Linked DNA regions of Homo sapiens: regions 2, 3 and 4 are each linked to region 1. The links are contacts of gene promoters, found by promoter capture Hi-C in blood cells and fetal thymus (Javierre and others, 2016). All regions are on one chromosome and are shown on one strand. The core of a region is centred on a gene start or on the middle of the fragment in contact, and the rest is flanking DNA. Distances in the headings are between cores, read along the strand shown. Region 1 holds the start of PNPLA4 (patatin like domain 4, phospholipase and triacylglycerol lipase). Region 2 overlaps NLGN4X (neuroligin 4 X-linked). Region 3 overlaps NLGN4X (neuroligin 4 X-linked). Region 4 overlaps NLGN4X (neuroligin 4 X-linked).

Evidence for each region. Contacts are between HindIII fragments. The CHiCAGO score rates a contact against its expected background, and 5 or more counts as called.
Region 2: a fragment that was not itself captured here is called in contact with the fragment with the promoter of PNPLA4 in region 1 in 1 of 17 cell types (fetal thymus); the score reaches 11.9 in fetal thymus.
Region 3: a fragment that was not itself captured here is called in contact with the fragment with the promoter of PNPLA4 in region 1 in 2 of 17 cell types (naive B cells and total B cells); the score reaches 7.4 in naive B cells.
Region 4: a contact is called between a fragment that was not itself captured here and the fragment with the promoter of PNPLA4 in region 1, in 6 of 17 cell types (naive B cells, fetal thymus, endothelial precursors and 3 more). The highest score is 12.9, in naive B cells.

What each region holds. Positions count from the first base shown.
Region 1 is chrX:7,924,821-7,929,118 of GRCh38, forward strand. PNPLA4 (patatin like domain 4, phospholipase and triacylglycerol lipase) reads right to left here and starts at 2,593. Exons shown (of 7, transcript NM_004650.3): 1 at 2,466-2,593; 2 at 1,120-1,312. The coding sequence starts at 1,299. LOC107985675 (a long non-coding RNA gene) reads left to right here and starts at 2,680. Exons shown (of 5, transcript XR_001755784.2): 1 at 2,680-4,298. RefSeq lists a silencer at 1,028-1,322 and enhancers at 1,299-1,348, 2,011-2,240, 2,471-2,710, 2,731-2,780, 3,121-3,200. The HindIII fragment of the contact is 3,086 bases long and covers 136-3,221 here.
Region 2 is chrX:6,220,934-6,225,324 of GRCh38, forward strand. All of the region lies in intron 1 of NLGN4X (neuroligin 4 X-linked), which reads right to left. Among named protein-coding and RNA genes, the nearest start is that of NLGN4X, 5.7 kb to the right of the region's middle. The HindIII fragment of the contact is 3,861 bases long and covers 1-3,521 here.
Region 3 is chrX:6,007,359-6,012,367 of GRCh38, forward strand. All of the region lies in intron 3 of NLGN4X (neuroligin 4 X-linked), which reads right to left. Among named protein-coding and RNA genes, the nearest start is that of NLGN4X, 220 kb to the right of the region's middle. The HindIII fragment of the contact is 1,161 bases long and covers 2,388-3,548 here.
Region 4 is chrX:6,027,019-6,031,940 of GRCh38, forward strand. NLGN4X (neuroligin 4 X-linked) reads right to left here. Exons shown (of 6, transcript NM_181332.3): 3 at 2,262-2,414. Among named protein-coding and RNA genes, the nearest start is that of NLGN4X, 200 kb to the right of the region's middle. RefSeq lists an enhancer at 30-603. The HindIII fragment of the contact is 2,571 bases long and covers 88-2,658 here.

The sequences.
Region 1 (4,298 bases), core at 1,343-3,842:
TCTACATAACTCCAAAGCTTAGGATTTGCCACAGCTCAAGAAAAGACTGCAGTAAAAAGGAAGAAGTGACACCCTGAAAGCCCTCTGCTTCAAAAACGAAACACAGTTATGGGAAGGAGGTAGCTTGTAATTCAAAGCTTATGAATCTGCTAGTTTAGGGGGAATTTTCCGACCTCATTTATACCTTGCATGGCTTAAGGTTCTGGTCCTGTTTAATCTCTGCAGTTTTTAAATCACTTTTCTAGTTCCCTGTAAATCAACCATATAAAGACAGGAAGATAGGTGGATTTCTGAATGATTGGCCTCAAATCTAGCTTCCCTTTGATAAGCAGCTCACAAAAGATCTGAAATGAGATTCTGATGTTTAACATTGCATAGTTTTGGAATTTTAAATGTGACTGAAATTCATTCTTGGGTATGAGGGTGTTAAATTGTTATTTCATTATTGTTCAAAGCTGCTAGAGTACGTAATGATTAACAAATATAATATTCTCCAACTACGGAATCCAGCTCTCACAGTCAGCAAATGATTGATCACTGTCTGGATAGCAGAAAACAGATTTTAAAACATAGATTGCATTAAATAAAGTACTTAATGAATAATTATTTGTATTACTTCTGGATAAATTGCTTGGAACTCAGAGCTTCCTCTTACTGTGAGAATTAAAAAAGAATTAAATTCCTATACCATTCCACTTAATAGAAACTGCATGCCCACATTTTAATTTATGTATCTATTTCTAAGTAGCAGTGAGGTAAGACTTGTTGCCCACATGTTCAAGGCCTTGAAAACAGGCCCCATGCTCTTCTCATGATCATAGAAAGAAGAAATATCCTTTGCTTGAAAGGAACAGAGCTGGAATCTTAAGGATAAATAAAAACTCAAGAGTAATATAAGTCATTTTATTTCCTTATTTCACTATCACCCAAAATAATCTTTTCCACAACCAGAGCACAGATCCCTAATAATTACATCTTAAGAGAAAAGTCCTAATCCTTTCTGTTTCCAAGCAAACGATTATTTCTCTGCAGTGTTAACTTAGTAGAGTCAATGCTGGTGTTTGCCTTTGGGTCTTAATTTCTTGATGAGGAACACAGCCTAAGTTACTACTTAATTACCTCTATTTTTTCTGGTGCTGTTAGCAGAACAGAAGCAACCAACGATCCCGCAGACGCCCCAGCGAAGGCTTTGACATCCTTCACAAGTTTTTTGCCATGTCTGCAAAGTGCAGATGCTGCCCCCAAGTGGTAAATGCCCAGAAATCCACACGCTGCAAATGATAGGTTGATGTGCTTCATTCTAGCTGTAGCACTGGCAATACAAAAAACAAAAATGCTGTAAGTTGGAATAGTTTATCCCACATACTGTGTAGTCTTATGTTGATCATCGTTCCAAGGCTTTCTTCTAACATCATTCTCTGTTTTAAGCACAGTGGTTTCAATTAATTCTAATTAAACACAAGAATCTTTCAAGGAAACCCTTTCTTTCCCTCCTCACCTTGACCCAAGTCTTATACATTAAAACAAAACAAAACAAAAACATTCCACATTTATTCGGTACATAGATTATGAATCTACGATTTAATTACTTGGCAGGAAACAGACGTATAAATTCCAGTTGACAAGGGCATTTGGTCTTTTCTCTTGACCCTTTGAAACGTTTTGCGGGTGGGGGCGGCACTACCATTATGAAACAGAAAATTATTAGAGACCGTATCAAATTCCAAATGAACAATACATTTGTTCTTGGTAAGTGTATCAGAAGATTTCAAATACAGTTCCCTACTCCCCTTCCCAATTTCTATTGTGAGCACCCATGCTTTTATGAACGCCAATACAATTACTCAGTAACGCAATAAGCAATCACTCAACAATGCAATACATTTCTTTGCCAAGTATCTCAACACAAACTGAGGTCATGCCTGGTGAAGGCAATTTAAGGCTCTATGAAATGTCAGCCACGCCACTTTATACTTGGAACACATCTAAATACAAAATTACATGTTTTCCTATGCCTCAGTGCGCACAATTTGCCCAAGTGAATGAAATTGTGCCTCCACAAGGCTGTCCATTCTGAAGGTCTCAGGGTTTCCTTGGGGGCCCAAGGGCCCCATTCAGGGACCCCAAGATGAGGCACATTACAGGGCCTCGAATTTAGGGACCTAAGACCGCCTGTTCCTGATGCACCCGGCCAGGCCCTGTGAGGGCAGGTGGCTCGGCCGCCGCAGGCTGCGCTGGCGTCCGCGTAGGCTGAGTCCCAGTCATCGATCCGGGGTCAAGCCCCAGTTTTGATTCCACTTCTGCAAATGGGGACGGGAAGGGGGTTGGGTGTGTAGCAACCAGGCGGCCAGGCCCAGCCAGCACAGGCTCAGTGCCCTCCCGCGGCTTGGAGGCCGGCAGGGCCGGGGTGGTCCCCGCATCAGTCCCGCAGGAGCACACCCTTGCTGGGCCCCAGGGCTCCGTACCAATGCAGCCCCGGGACACTTCCGTGTTGAACGAGTCCCTTTAACCAGATGGCGGGGCCGGGCCGTCACTCAACGCCATTCCGCCACCAAGGCCGCGCTACGCTCTCCGCGAGCCGGCCCAGGAAAGTCCTGCGGCAGGGGTTGGTACCGCCTCCCGCGCAGGTATGTGACGTCATCGCGCCGACGAAGGCGCCCGCTAGGCCCCGCCTGCTCTATTTAAACTTCTGGACTCAACCTGGCCGCTAGACCGGAGCGTCCTCCAGCGCAGGCAAGGATTCCTCGTTTAGAGTCATGTTATCTTCGAGTACCTAGAGAGACATTTTAACCCACACCCTAGAGAGGCGTTGTAATCCTTACGTGTCTTTTAACGCTACTTGGCCCTTACCTGCGAGCAACTGACCTTTAATAATCCTCATTTTCTGTGCCCCGGAAGTGCCTTACCCTCTTCGCGTCTGTTTCCCGGAAGTGGTTCTTCTCCCTCTCCACCCTTTCGCCCGCCTGGGCGGTCCAGCTGCCCCTAGGGGCCAACTCCAGCGGCTATTTTGGGGCTGGACATCCCGCAGCTTTTCAAGGCGTGCCTTTGGTTTTTTTAAGAAGTGCTATCTAAAGGAAAAGCTGGACTATGACTCTGGGGAACTTTCATATCCTCAGTTGACCTTAGGCTGTGTGACCTTGAGCAGGTAGCATAACCTCTCTGAGTTTCCCGCGTGCCTTATGTGCAGATTGAGATGCTAAAATGAGAGAGCTAAATTGGAAAGCTTTTTCCACATAGGGGGCCGTGAGCAGGTGGCTGTTTTGTCCTCTGGCACCTTTGGCTCAGACTTAAGCAGCTTCAACGACCGCCAAGATGCCTGCCATGCCCACCAAGATTTAAAGGACTCTGATAATTCTTTCTCTCCCCAAACGGTGTTTTCCTTATCTAATCCTAATAACCAAGCCTGGAGGAATCCCTGACTTCGTGATTGAAGGCTCTCCAGGTCCCCTAGTTTAAGGGCAGAGATTTACTTTCTCTGAGGCTACAAAGGAGCGTCTGCGAGAATGTCTCTACCTTAGACAAAACAGGGAGGAGGGGTGGAGCTCTCCAAATTGCCTCTGGTTTGGGCTTTTTCTTTCTGTTTTGGTGTATCGTCTCTGGCCAACAACACCTGTGAGTCCTTGATGTGACGATTAGGGAAGATGTTTTTAATTCACATAACTATTCTTTAGAGAAAATTGATCCTGAAACACCTTATTGCCTTATCGTAGAATGACTGCATTACTCAGAATTCTTTACCTCTACCGGAATTTAGTGAAGGGAAGGCACAACGTACATTAGGAAAATACAGGACACACTCCAGTCCTTAAACCTTCCACAATCTTCTAGCTCTTTAAGGTCGAGTGTGATCCTCCCCAGAACTGCATCTTCCAGGAAGCTCATGAGAAAGGAAGGATCCCAGGTCCCATCTCTGATCTGAGTCGGCATCTGCGTTTTAACAGAATCCTGAAGCAGTGGTCTAACTCCTTTGGTGGTGTTATTGTTTGCATGTATACCTCCAAAATTCACATATTGAAATACTAACCCCCAAGGTGATAGTATTAGGAGGTGGGGCCTTTGGGAGGTAATTAAGTCATGAGGGTGAAGCCCTCATGAATGGGATTAGTACTCTTAGAAAAGGGACCCCAGAGAGGTCTCTTTCCACCATGTAAGGATAAAAGTACACGGAGAAGATGGCAATCTGCAAACTGGAAAAGGGCCCTCCTCAGAACCTGACCATCTTGGCACCTTGATCTCAGACTTCCATCTTCCAGAACTGTGAGAAATAAATTTCTTTTATAAACACTCAGTCAATGCTA
Region 2 (4,391 bases), core at 341-2,840, 1.7 Mb before region 1:
CGCCATGTTGGCCAGGCTAGTCTTGAACTACTGACCTCAGGTGATTCGCCCACCTCAGCCTCCCAAAGTGCTGGGATTACAGGCGTGAGCCACCACGCCTGGCCAACTTTATAACTTTCATTGTACATTTTCTATTTTTATTTATTATTTATTTATTTATTTATTTATATTTTTAGAGATAGGGTCTTGCTCTGTCTCCCAGGCTGGAGTACACTGGCGTAATCATAGCTCACTGCAGCCCTGAACTCCTGGGCTCAAGTGATCCTCCCACCTCAGCTGGAACCACAGGTACTTGCCATCAGGCCCGGCTAATTTGTTTTTAATTTTTGTTTCTTTGTGGAGTTGGGGTCTCACTCTATTACCCAGGCCAGATGTTATGAGTTGTTTAATATAGATTTGGTGAATGATGAGGATAAGAAAAAGAAAATAATGGAAAACCACATTTTTCCTTCTTATATTATATATATATATATATATATATATATATATATATATATTTGCTTTTATCTAATGTGTTGCAATGGCTGAGAAAAACATTTTCAGCAAAGACTAGTTCCTAGTTAATGTGTTAGCATATGCATACATGTATGTGTATACACCCGCTCATACACACTGCCATTCTTACCATGTAGCTTCAGGGCATGAGGGCATATTGTCTCACTTAGGAAAACAGTTAACAATGACATATTTTGTTTGTGAAAACATGCATTTACTTTTGTGAGTTTCCCCACCTAACCCATTCACAGAGTTATAGTCACAGAGAGTACTGAAGAGTGGAATAAGTTAAAGGCACTCAGTTGCAGCGAGCTTCTTCTGCCCCCATCCCCCATGCTTTTGAGACCACAGTTCCATGCTGAACAGCTCTGACCATTGGAGTCACACGGCATGCCTCACTGAGTTCTTGGACTTGCCCGTCCCATACTCCAGAGCCACATATTGGTGGTGTTGAAATACTAAACATGGAAAATGGCACCGCATGCAACTTCACCACAGCCATCATCACAGAACCAAAGAGGCCTTTTCTGCACTTTACAAAAACAAACCACAATTCACCATAGCTCTTTTATCAGTGCCAATAACACTTTTAGTAACCTCAGTCCTTTCTTTTTTAAAGGATCCAAAAACTTACCAAGTAATGCAACTTGAAACAACCCAAGTTCCTTTTCAGCTTATATGACAGGCTAAGTTTCACTCCTGAAAAAGGTGCCCTTAGCAAAATCCGTGTCCCCTCTCCCCAACCAAAGCATACAAACAACCAAACAAAAACAAACAGAAAATGAGCCTGGATGAAGGGTTGATGTGGGAGCCGGACAGATGCCCACAGATGTTAATAAAATCACATGTCTGGGGTGATGGCTTTGAGATCCAAGTTTTCATCATCCAATCAGGTACCAGCCTCTTAAAACCAAAATGATCACCGATATTAACAGGTGGAGCTAAGAAAGTCCTGTTGTAAGCCAAAAATAGCACTCTGTTACTTTGACAAACCATGATTTCTTTATATAATATACATTTTAAATAAAACAACCCAAACAAAATTCTGGGCCATTTATCCACATTTCCAGAGAGCAGTGAAAGCCTAGATCGTTTCATTAGCACTATACTGAAATTAACATTTCTCTCTTTGAAATGTATTCCTCAACTAATGAGGACCTAAATGTTCATTGTACTTCATCTCCTTTCTAAATTATGGAGGATTACTCTTTTCCTGTCTCAAATAAATTCAATAAAACCTCATGATATGGTTTGGCTTTGTCCCCACCAAACCTCATCTTGGATTGTAGCTCCCATAATCCCCACGTGTCGTGGAGGGATGTGGTGGGAAGTAATTGAATCATGGGGGCAGTTTGCCCCATGCTATTCTTATGATAGTGAGTAAGTTCTCACAAGATCTGTTGATTTTATAAGGGGTTTCCCCCTTCACTCGGTTCTCATTCCTCTCCTTCCTGCCATCATGTGAAGAAGGAAGTATTTGCTTCCCCTTCCACCATGATTGTAAGTTTCCTGAGGCCTCTCCAGCCATGCTGAACTGTGAGTCATTTAAACCTCTTTCCTTTACAAATTACCCAGTCTTGGGTATGTCTTTTTTAGCAGCCTGAGAATGGATTAATACACCTCATCTCACTATATATATAATAATAAGATATATAGTGTATTTTTATATACATGATGCAGACCTTACTATAATATGTATTACCATATATATATTATATAGTAGGATACATATCTTACTATATATAGTTTTTTATATACGTATTTTAGTATTGTTGGGGTTAGGTCTGTTCTCCTTCAGGTACCATTTCTGGGAAGATGAGAGTGCCTTGGGAAGATGTGGTGTATGGAGGTGTTCCGCACACACCTGGGACACGTGAACTGAACACGAGATGTCTAAAGTTTGAAATCTCAGCCCGAGGTAGATGGGCTGTTTTCCACCACCAACCTTCCACTCCCGTAATGATTTTATGAGGCTTTTATTTACTTATTTTTTGTTTAATGTAACCACCTGCAGAGGGAAAGCCTTTTCATCTATACATTTATTCAAAGCCTATAAATGGCACAATGACAAACTGCTAGGAGCTATCACCTTCTTTTTTTTCTTGTTCATGTGTGCTACTGTGCTCCAAGAAAAATGAGGAAGGGCTTCCTACACTGCCGTTCACTTAACAAAGAACAGTGGAGCCTTTCAAAGTCCAAATGTAGGTTGTTTAGAGAAAAATGACAGAACTGGAAAATATTCGTTGAGTGAATGGTAGTAGAGAGCACAGCAGATGACCTAATTGCCTCAGCAGCCTGGGCTTCAATTTTGATTCTCACTTCCTCTAATTGACTGTGCAAAAGATGTATCTTTGATTTAAAACTGGTAGCTCAGGAGTTTAAGAAATCAGTGGTGGCTATTCAAATCTGTCTGAATATCCATTCACATAATTAAATAGGAGACGAAGTCTCTCCTCTGAAAAAGTACAGTACTCAGACAAAAACACACACAAAAAGAGCAACAGATTTAAACTAAACTGAACATATTTCCCCATTTGGGAATAGAATACATATTGTTAAAAGGCAGAAAGCAGTACAGAAAGAATACATTCTGGTTTACAAACTAAAATCGTGTCTCTTACACTTGACATTCACATCTTAAGACCAACTCTCACCTTATTTGGAATATAAGTATATTTTAACCAGATAAGCCTATCTTTAGAAGGAGGATACTAAAGGACTTAAAATATTTGTATATTGCTACTTCATTTGAATGCAATGCATTCGCTCAACAAGTTGCATTATTGGCAATATTCAACAGTATTACAAAAGGTTTGAAATGTGGCGTACCAATTAAAAAGAAAGAATGTTAAACGGAGGTCATTCCCTCGTGCACTTGAATGTTTAGTTTTTTGAGAACCTTTTGGTTGTGGTCTAGAAATAAAAGCACAGTATTCCAAATGGCTTTTAAAGAGACCCCTGCACTTCCAAAAGCAAGTCTCTGTTGCGGAGTCAGTCAACACTCTCATCTTTGTGGAGAGACTATAAGCTTTCCACAAATTACTACACACAAAACAATGAAATAGCCAAGTTCACAAATTTTAAAAAATCTATATATTTACCATTAGGCTACATTCCAGGCCAACAACTATGAACTTTCAAATTCTTTCAAGTCTGCTTGTAAATTTCACAGCATCAAGATAACTTCATTATCTACCTTATGCAGCCACCAGTCCCTTATCAAGTATCTGTTACATTCTCAGGTTTGGGTAAAAATCAGCTAGGTTACTGGTTTGAGGGCCAACTGTATACTCGGCATTAGTTTATTTAAATAAAACGCAAAGAAAAGTAGCAATTCTTCCACTGGAGAAGAAAACATCAAAGCATCTTTAAAACTGCATCCACGCACAGGCATTATTATGAAAATGCAATTATTATTCTGATTTCAAAAAAAAATGAAGCCTTCCATTTTAATCTACTGACTTAAAACTGATGAAGTAATTTTCCACTTGCTACAACTGGCCCTGATTATGTTCTTACATGTCAAAGAAAATACTCTTTAAAATGGCCATATATATATATATATATATATATATATATATATACACACACACACACATATATGTAGAAATGTAGAATGCGTGTGTGTATGTCTGTATACACACATACACACACACGCATTCTACATTTCATTGAGTAATAAAATACTGAATTTCTAATCTGAGAAAATACATGCTTGCAGAGTTCTCCATGAAATTCCTGTATTCTTAATTTTAGGATACACAGAAATTCCATATTTTTTTCTGGAAATACAGGGATTAATGCAACCATGTGCCATTAGCCATCCCTCCCCCACTTAACATTTTGCTCATTTCCACAGGAAAATCTATGCTGAGGATTTAATGGATTACTGCTAA
Region 3 (5,009 bases), core at 1,718-4,217, 1.9 Mb before region 1:
CTACCTACTGGATAAAGGTTCCACTATTCGGGTGATGAGTACACTAAAAGCCCCGACATCACCACTATGAATATACCCATATAACAAAACTGAATTTGTAACACCCATAAATTTATAAACATTTTTAAATAAAAAATAAAAAGCAAATAAAAGCAGGTTTTCTTAAAACATTGTATTATTTTGTTCTTAAAATAATTTTATTTCTTAAAACACGTATTTTGTTAGTAAGTACATACATTTGCTAACAAAATAGTGGAAGCAAATACAAAATATAGCATGTAGCTGTCAGCCCAGGGCCCTGTAAATGGCCTGCTTGCATCATGTAAGTTCTGACCATATGACAAATGGAATGGATAGAAGCTAGATACATATAAAATTTTCTCCTTTCTGCAAGTTCACAGTTTCAAAGACATTTCCTAAAGTCTTTCCCTGGTCAAAAGCATGGAAATTTAATTATCAATTCAAGTTTGCTCTGAGATCAAATGGAGACACTGGGGTTGTCAATAGTCAAATTAAATCCTAAGCTAAAATGCCCCTGAAAGTAACAGATAAGGAAGAAGAGAGCCCTGGGACAGTTTTTAGTCTTCCATGTCAGGATGCTGTGGGGTACGATGACATGTTTTGTTTGATTGTTGTTTAGTTTGTTTATATGCTCCTTTCAGGACCTTTCTACACTTTTAAAGAGAGCATCCCAGTGAAGGATATGACAACTTCAGACTTTATTTTTCTTCTATTTAAGAGGAAATTCACGTAACATAAAGTGAACCATTTTAAAGTGTACTGTTCTGTTCAATGTCATTTAGTATATTTGCATTTTTGTGAATCTATCTCTAGAAATTTTTCATGTTCGCAAACTGAAACTCTGTAACCATGACACGCTAATTCCCTATAGTCCTCTTCCAAGCACCAGCAACCACTAATCTACTTTCTGTCTCTATGAATTGAATCCAAATATCCATCAAATGAAAAATAGATAAACATAACAGAATGCGGTCTATCATACAATGGAATAGTATCCAGCCATAAACCAGCATGCGGTACTGATTGATACATGCTACAATGTGGATGAACCTTGTAAACCTTGTAAACATTTTATTAGGAGAAAGAAATGAGATATAGAGTGTATGATTTCACTTATATGAAATGTAAGATTATGTGAATACATAGAGATGGGTTTTTAAAAGTTACTTTATTTTCTACCACTCAAAAATTACCATGTCCATTCCAATATTGCAGGATATGAGATACTGAACATGCTCTAACATGGTGATGATTACAAATAGTCAATTAAATCACAGATACCATAATGTTTTATTTTACTGTGATATAGAGAATATGAAATTGATCATTTAAACTATTTTTTGGTGTATAATTGAGTGGCCTTAAGAACAGTCACATTATTGTCCAACTGTCCCCACCATCTATCTTCAGAACATTTTGTACCTTTCCAAACTGAAACTCTATCCATTAGGAAATAATTTTCCATTCTCTCCGCCTCTCAGCCGCACACAAACACCATTCAACTTTTTGCCTCTGTGAATTTGACAACTCTACGTACCTCATATTGGTAAAATCATACAGCTTTTGTCCTTTTGTGACTAGCATGTAGCTTATTTCTCTTAGAATGATGTCCTCAAGGTTTATTTATGTTGTAGCATGTATCAGAATTTCCTTTCTTTTAAGGGCTGAATAATATTCCATTTCAGCAGTGTGTGTGTGTGTGTGTACACGCATAAATATATACATATATATCACTTGTTTATCCATTCATCCATCAATGGATAGTTGGCTAGTTCAAAAGTTCAGTTTTTAGCTATTGTGAATAACATGGTTAAGGACTGCGTATACAAATATCTCCTGGAATTCCTGCTTTCAATTCTTTTGAGTATATACCCAGAGGTAGAATTGGAGTATATACCCGGAGGTAGAATTGTTGGATCACATATGGTAGTTCCATGTTTACTTTTTTGAGGAACAGCCAAAGAGTTTTCCACAATGACTGTACCATCTTACATTCCCACCAGCAATGTGAAAGAGTTCCAGTTTCTCCACATCTCCATTACAACTTCTTATTTTACGTTTACTTTATTAACAGCCATCCTAATGGATATGATTTCCATGATCTGAAAACATGATTTCTTGTGTATTATTGAGAATGTCAACAATTGAGATTTTCAATGTACTGTCCCAGGCTCCTAAGACTCAACAATGAATGAAACAAACAACAATTAATGCCCTTGAAGAGCTGACATTTCGGTGGGTGGGTACTGACTGGAAGAAAAGCAATTGAGTTGCAGTATAATTGTGGCCAAGATGGAACGAGTCATAGATTTGACTGGAAATTGGATCCACTTCTGCCACTGTCAAGTTTTGTGACCCTGACCACAAGCTTTCATTTCTTCATTTTTCAAATGTGGTTGGTTGTCCAGGCCCGTGGGAACACGTATGAAGACATACACCACTTTCACAACACAGGGGGCCCCTGTTTCAGCCAGATCCAAGAGAATCTGCTCTCTGTTCACAGAATGAACACATCTAAATCATAACTCTCTATCCTGCATTTTTCTTCTGTTTTGTCTCTTCTTACATTTTCTTTTCAGGTTCTATGGCGATTTGAATTTGAGACTCAATTCCAAATGTATCCCACGTCCAGTTATTCCAATGTGATGGAGAATCACAAAGTGAAGCAAGTGGGATATACTGCTAACCATGAATAAGAGGTTAGAATGTCTTGTTCTGATTAAGAGCAGTCAATTAGGGCTAATTTCCTGTAGGAGTACAGATAAATATCTTGCCTATAACTTGCAGGTGAGTGACTACAAAACTTGCATTTATCTAGCAACCTTCAGTACCATTCTGCTGACTGCTGACATCAGGAAATATCCCTTTGCTGCCTAGTTAGTGTTGTTGTCATGAATTTGGGGGTGGGAGTGGGGGTGCTTCCTGCTTGTAGACCCTCACCTTTAGACCTCCTGGATCTCCCCTATGAACCTGCCATTTAAAATGCTCAATCAGCCTCCAGGACTCTAACAAAGACCCTTCCATCTGTTATAATTGATGAATGAGTCTGTAGTTTAGTGATCCTACTGCCTTCTGCATTAAGTATTTGAATTATACTTTTTGGACAATATGAATATCTCAAAGTTCTTTTTATTTTATTATTATTATTATTATTATTATTATTATTTTAGACGAAGTCTTGCTCTGTCGCCCAGGGTGGAGTGCAGTGGTACAATCTCAGCTCATTACAACCTCCGCCTCCCAGGCTCCAGCGATTCTTGGGTCTCAGCCTCCCAAGTAGCTGGGATTACATGTTTGTGAGACCATGCCCAGCTAATTTTTGTATTCATAGTAGAGACGGGGTATTGCCATGTTGGCCAGGCTGGTCTCAAACTCCTGGTCAAGTGATCCACCTCCCATAGCCTCCCAACGTGCTGGGATAACAGGCGTGAGTCACTGTGCCCAGCCTCAAATATCTTTTTCTACATCAATTTAGGGATTACTCATTTTGAATCACAATAATCTCTATTTACCAAACAACAAAAGGAAGCTTTCAAATTTGAACTTCAAATAAATGAGCTCAGGATAAATTACAGGCAAACACTACTAACTTCCTATCATTGGTATATTCAAAAGTTAAATGAAAATTCCACTGCAAATTAAAGAATAGTAAATGGGACTCATTAATAATATCCTAGTTGTACTCTTCCATCCATATCTTAAAGTGTTTAATAATCTATTAATCTATACTTGCACCAGAACTATTATTTCACAATATAAAGTATCTCAGAGTCAAGAGACTTTCCTAAATATGATAATAAAAAAGAAAGAAATGTTGGCACTATGAAAACCTGCTGTTAGTCTTACCCACAAGATCCTTTATATTTAAACCAATAAGCTTGCCAACCTGTGGCAAATGAGAGCATTCATGCTGGCCAAAAGTAAAGCAAGCGTATTTCCATTCAAATGAATGAATCTCTACCAATACCCAACATCTCAAATTCAGAAATATATATATATATATATATATGTATACACACATACATATCTACTTCTACAGCAGGAATTTCTGGCATGATCCTAGTAAAATTTTTAAAAGTCTAAAGAACTTCTTTATAATGGCCATTTTTATTTTCACCGGCCAAACACTCTGCTGGAGATGCAATAAGATGATACCATCTGAAAGAAAAATATCTCTCCACCGATCAGTGAATTAAGATCTCATGAGGTTTAGGTATCGTTTTTCTCCATCTAGGTCCTATAATCCATGGCCTAAAATTGGCTTTCACCAGAATATAGGTCCTACCACCGCCAGGGGTCAAGGCAGCATCTGTGAATCAGACACCATTAACACCATCTTCTGGAGAACACCTGACTTGTTTGAACGTTATGTAATCGTTACTCACCTGTCTTTAAAACCAGGAAAGGATGTTACACGATCTCTTCATGGTACCGTGGGGTGAGGAAAAAGTAAAGATAAAAAATAACACCATCTCACAAATCTTGGGTTCTGGTAAATCAGATATGTTCTAAAGAGAAGGCTATGAAACAGTTGAGTTTGAAAAAAAAAATGAGGCATTACAAGGCCATTGATTTCATTAAAAGTCCATGAGTCGTTTTAAAACTTGAGATATATTTGAATAAGACCCTTTTTTAAAACCTGCATTAATCTTTGATTTTAATTTTTAGGAACCTCCATTTTCACATGGCACATGCCCAAATTGCAATTCCAAGGCAGAGCATTAATGAGCATTTGTAATCAGATTTAATCACAGAGGGAAAAGACAGAAAGAATATCCAAGGTAAAAGGTTTTGCTTTATATTTATAGCCTGTAATTTAAGAAGGAAGTGTGAAATATAGCTTTGCGTATTGCTGGAGCAAAAGCACAAGTTTTGTGGCCAACGGGGAAAAACGCTTTTACTCCTTGTCAAACTGATGGAGAAGTTTTAAAGGCTCAGGAAATAAACTTTCAGATACTGCATGACTACATTATTTGGAAGCAAAGAGG
Region 4 (4,922 bases), core at 123-2,622, 1.9 Mb before region 1:
CATCACGCATGCAACAGAATATTGTGTGGTTCCAGCAAAGCAAGAATTTTCTTGATGCCCACTGCTTCCCTCAGAAAAGCATGCCCAAGCTTTCTTCCGTGTGGCCGTGCTACAGGCAGTGCACACACTGCTCCCTTTGAAGAGGGCCTGTGCAATGCCCTCACACATACTTTCCTCCTTCCACCTCTTTGTCAGAATGAACCTTTTGTAAAACATCAAGAAGCACAATTTCCTGTTTCCAACACTAGTAGCCAAAGCAACTATCCAGCGCCTCTGAAAACTATTCAGTGAAGCGTGCAATTACTGCTATGCAAAAGTTCAGAGACATTATTCCGCCAAGATGTGGCTCACAGAAAACTACAAAAAATATAGGAAATAAAGCCAACGACATAATAAGTTTTTTGACACTAAAAGGTTTTTTGGTGGTGTTTATTTTCTTTAATGCAGAAACCAACCTGGAATTTTGAGTTCTTTATCAATGTTTCAAAAGATACAACTTTAGCAACACCTGTGACTGATTTGCATTTCAAAGTAAGAAATGCATTTCTCTTAGGGTTTCTTACAACACCTCTTAGGGTTTCTCAGCAATTCACCACCTTTTAGGGCTTCTTACAGGTTAATGTTTTCACATAGGAAAAAAAAAAACCCACTCAAAATGAAATGAAGTCATCTGATTGAAAAGAAAATATTCTTGGCCATATTTGAAGAAAACATTTTCAGTCATATTTCTTGTTTGACAGACCTCCTTTAGTCCATCTTATTTTGCTTTTTATTTTAATTAATTTATTACTAGTATTATTATTATTTTTTTTTTTTTGAGAAAAGTCTCACTCGGTCACCCAGGCTGGAGTGCAATGGCGCTATCTCTGCTCATTGCAACCTCGACCTACTGGGTTCCAGAGATTCTCCCGCCTCAGCCTCCTGAGTAGCTGGGATTACAGGCGCCTGCCATCAGGCCCAGTTAATTTTTGTATTTTTAGTAGAGACAGGGTTTCACCACTTTGGTCAGGCTGTTTTCTAATTCCTGACCTCAAGTGATCTGCCTGCCTGGGCCTCCCAAAGTGCTGGGATTATAGGCGAGAGCCACCACACCTGGCCTTCATTTTGTTTTGTATTTCATATTGTATCATAATCACACTGGAACCAATATACACATCTCTCTCATGGCTAACTTGTTAAAAACTTTATCTTCTATACCATTTTAATGCATTTTTGCCTGGAAAACAAATGTTTTTACATAGGTCTTAGGAATATTATTCACAAACTAACCAACACCAGGAAAGGCCATCTCAGAAGGTACTGAAATCTGACTCTGAAGATGTATAATTTTCCAACCTACAATTAGAAGAAGATGAATGATGGCCGGGCGTAGTGGCTCACACCTGTAATCCCAGCACTTTGGAAGGCCGAGGCAGGCGGATCACGAGGTCAGGAGTTCGAGACCAGCCTGGTCAATATGGTGAAACCCTGTCTCTATTAAAAACACAAAAATTAGCTGAGTGTGGTGGCATGCGCCTGTAGTCCCAGCTACTTGGGAGGCTGAGGCAGAAGAATCACTTGAACCCGGGAGGCAGAGGTTGTAGTGAGCCAAGATCGCACCACTGCACTCCAGCCTGGGCGACAGAGTGAGATTCCATCTCAAAGAAAAAAAAAAAAAAGAAAGAAAGAAAAGAAATGAAACATCAAAACAAGGAGGAACTAAACTTGAATTTCCATGTATTTAGCCTTTAATCGTAGATCATCAATGGACAAAAGTCAACTAACAGCTAAGTTTCCCTGCATGCAAATGCAATGGAACCAAAACAACAGATCTTCCAAAGGCTCAACATAATCAGTTAGAGAATTGGATAAAATCTTTTCCTCCACACAATATACTGATTCATACAATGACACAATCAGAAAAGAAAGCTAAGATCTATGGCCATTCCCAACTATAATATCACCAAATATGTGTTCATTGTACAGGTCTATGTAGACAAACATACATTCATTGAACTCCAAGGGAGAAACATGCTATAAATAAAATTTCATTTCATCTTTAAGATCTTAAAGTCTGCATTGGTTTGAGAAGGGATTCATGACCATGTTGCACAAAGGTAGTAAAAGGAATAAACATATCCAATCACATAAAGTAAATACCGTGAAGTGGAATTAACCAGGAACTGGAATAACAGGATTCAAATCCACGAGCCCCGTCAAAACGAGAAGTGGACTTTTCATGTTTCCTCTTGCTCAGTCATTCACATGATGAAATCACTTACCTAGTATTCCCAGACGGTAGTTAATGGTGATCACGATGACGTTTCCGTAGCTTGCCAAAATGCTGCCGTCAATCATGTTGCCGGTGCCCTCCATGTAAGATCCCCCATGGATATAGACCATGACGGGCTTCTTACTGTTCTGATCATGAATATCTGGAAAAAAAAGCCAAGTAAGGAAACACAATAAAGAATCACACTGACTCACCAATGCTAAATTAAGAAAAAAGGAGATTCACTGATTTCCCTATTTTGACTTGAATTAAGCACATTTATTTTTATGGATGATATGACCCTTGATAAGAGTGTCTAAGGAAAATGATCAATGCTATTACGTTTTCTATTTATGGAAATGGTATTTTAAGAAGCATACAGACATTTAGCGTACTCTGCTCATCTAAGCTTCTATATATATCTAAAGCACTAAAAGAAATGGTTTTAGGTAAAGTACACATTTCCTAAATTTTGCTCAAACCCTAAAATGTGATTTAAATTGAATAAACACATGGGACCCTTGATGAAATATATTTTATCTTCTAATTAAGTATAAAATCAACTTCAAAATTATAATTAATTTTAATATAGTTGCATCTTAATTCGCAGGTGAGTGTACAGATTCATCTTCAATTTAACAATAAAAACATAAAAGTAGTAGTGAAGCTATAAACTATCAATAAGGGACAGATAATGACAAGAAAGCAAAATCAACAGTTAAAAATTATTAACTGAACAGAAATAGGGAAAAAAAAGAAAAGATGTCCAAGCAAATGTCTTTGTTCCAGTGATTACAGTAACATACTAACATACTTAGGTGACAAAAATAAAAGAGATGTAATAAAAAATGGCAAAAGAATCCAAACTATTTAAATGCTTTATATTTTCACAGGGAATATAAACTCCCATTGTGACTTGCAACCAATGATTCCTCTTGGTAATTTACTTTATTATTTAAATTAACAATGATGTAAAAACAATGATCTGTGATGATAGAAAGTTGGAGACCATCTGTAGGGCCTGCTTTGTGAAAAAGACCTGTTTTATAACATTAATCAGCCATTAGGGCTGCATTTAATCTTTGGAAGACTGACCTCACGTATAAATATTTCTGGATACAGATATGTGTGTGTGTGTGTGTGTGTGTGTGTGTACAATTTAAATATCTTTGTAACTAAAAGAAAACTCAAGTATTTATGCATATTTATTTTCAATTTCTTCATCAATAAAGTTTTTTTTTCCTCATAATCCACAGGGACACTTTTGAAATACCACAAAGGAATTCTGAGGATATGAATTACCATCGTTTGGATGGTGGCTCCAATTTGAATGAATTATGATCACAATTTTACTGGGTGCATACAGAAGACACGACATACCCATTGGTCACAGTAAAGCACACAAAAGAGTGTCAAGTTACCCAAGTATTTATTTGCAGATATTTAATCCACGGCAGAAAAGTGTCTTTTGTTTTCTCATATAAAATTCAAATATGAAGTAAAAATCTTCTATTAATCATTTATTCATCATACACTACGGGAAATGTCTTCTGCTATATGAATAAGAAATGGCTTTTCTCATGATCCACTGCTTCTTTCTGGTTCCTAATTTGCTGTTTTTGGCCTCATTTCTTTTACCATTACCAGCGGTTGCCTAGTAAATTGTGGAAAAAAGAGTAAGTAGAGATTTTGAAGGGCTGCTTTAAAGTGCTCCCTTGGAAAATATGTGAGATTAACATCTCTTACCTTTCATAAAATATAGAACAAGACTCTCTTGAACTTGTGGAAGTAATAACCAGCTGTTATATTAATGCAAAGTCAAAAAATCATAACTTAACAATATGAAATGAAAATTAGATGGCATTTTAATGGTAATAAAGATTCACTGGGAACACTGTGAAAACAGATTCTAATTATCGAGAGGAAATGTATTAAAAAGAGAAGGCCAAACAGGATACAAATTAGAGCAGTATAAGATATGAGACAAAAGTTTATTTCATTTTTATGTATTTGCTCAATACTGATAAAATGTCAGGCATTCAGAAGCCCTTATCAAAGAAGGGGCTACCTGAAGCAGGTGTAGATTTTGATCTCCTATGGCCATCAGAATGGAGATCTCTCAGAGAGCTACTTGAGACAGTGACAGCTCTATGAGCTCAGTAAAAGTAACAATACTCAAAATGTTAAGGGAAGACTGGGCACAGCAAGGGTGTTGGCAAGATTTCTTTTCTTGGAGAACAGTTGATTTATGAAGATAAGCAAGGAGGGGAGCAACTACAAGAATTGGTCAAAAGACCCTGTCATGGACGTTGGGCTTGACCAGCAAGGATAATTCAGGACTCACTTTTGGGCTTTAAATTGCCTTTCAGACAGAGACCCAAAGGTCCAGCCAGGACCTTAATGGAGTTCCATGCATTTTGCTACCCAGATGGGAAAAATGTGCTTTTAGCTAATCCTATAGAGCCTTACCAATGAAGAAGGGCTTGCTTGAGTACTTTTTTTGTTGCTTCTCCTCTTTAAAAAAAAAAAAAATCATTTCTTGTGCAGAAAGGGCAGAAAAACAGCATGCGAGTTGTCTGCATGAGTACCTCAGACCTACCATCTTTTAAAAAAAAATCCTTTCACTTCTGGTAGACAATGTGTTGAGCAATTTGGTAGCCTTAAGAAGAAA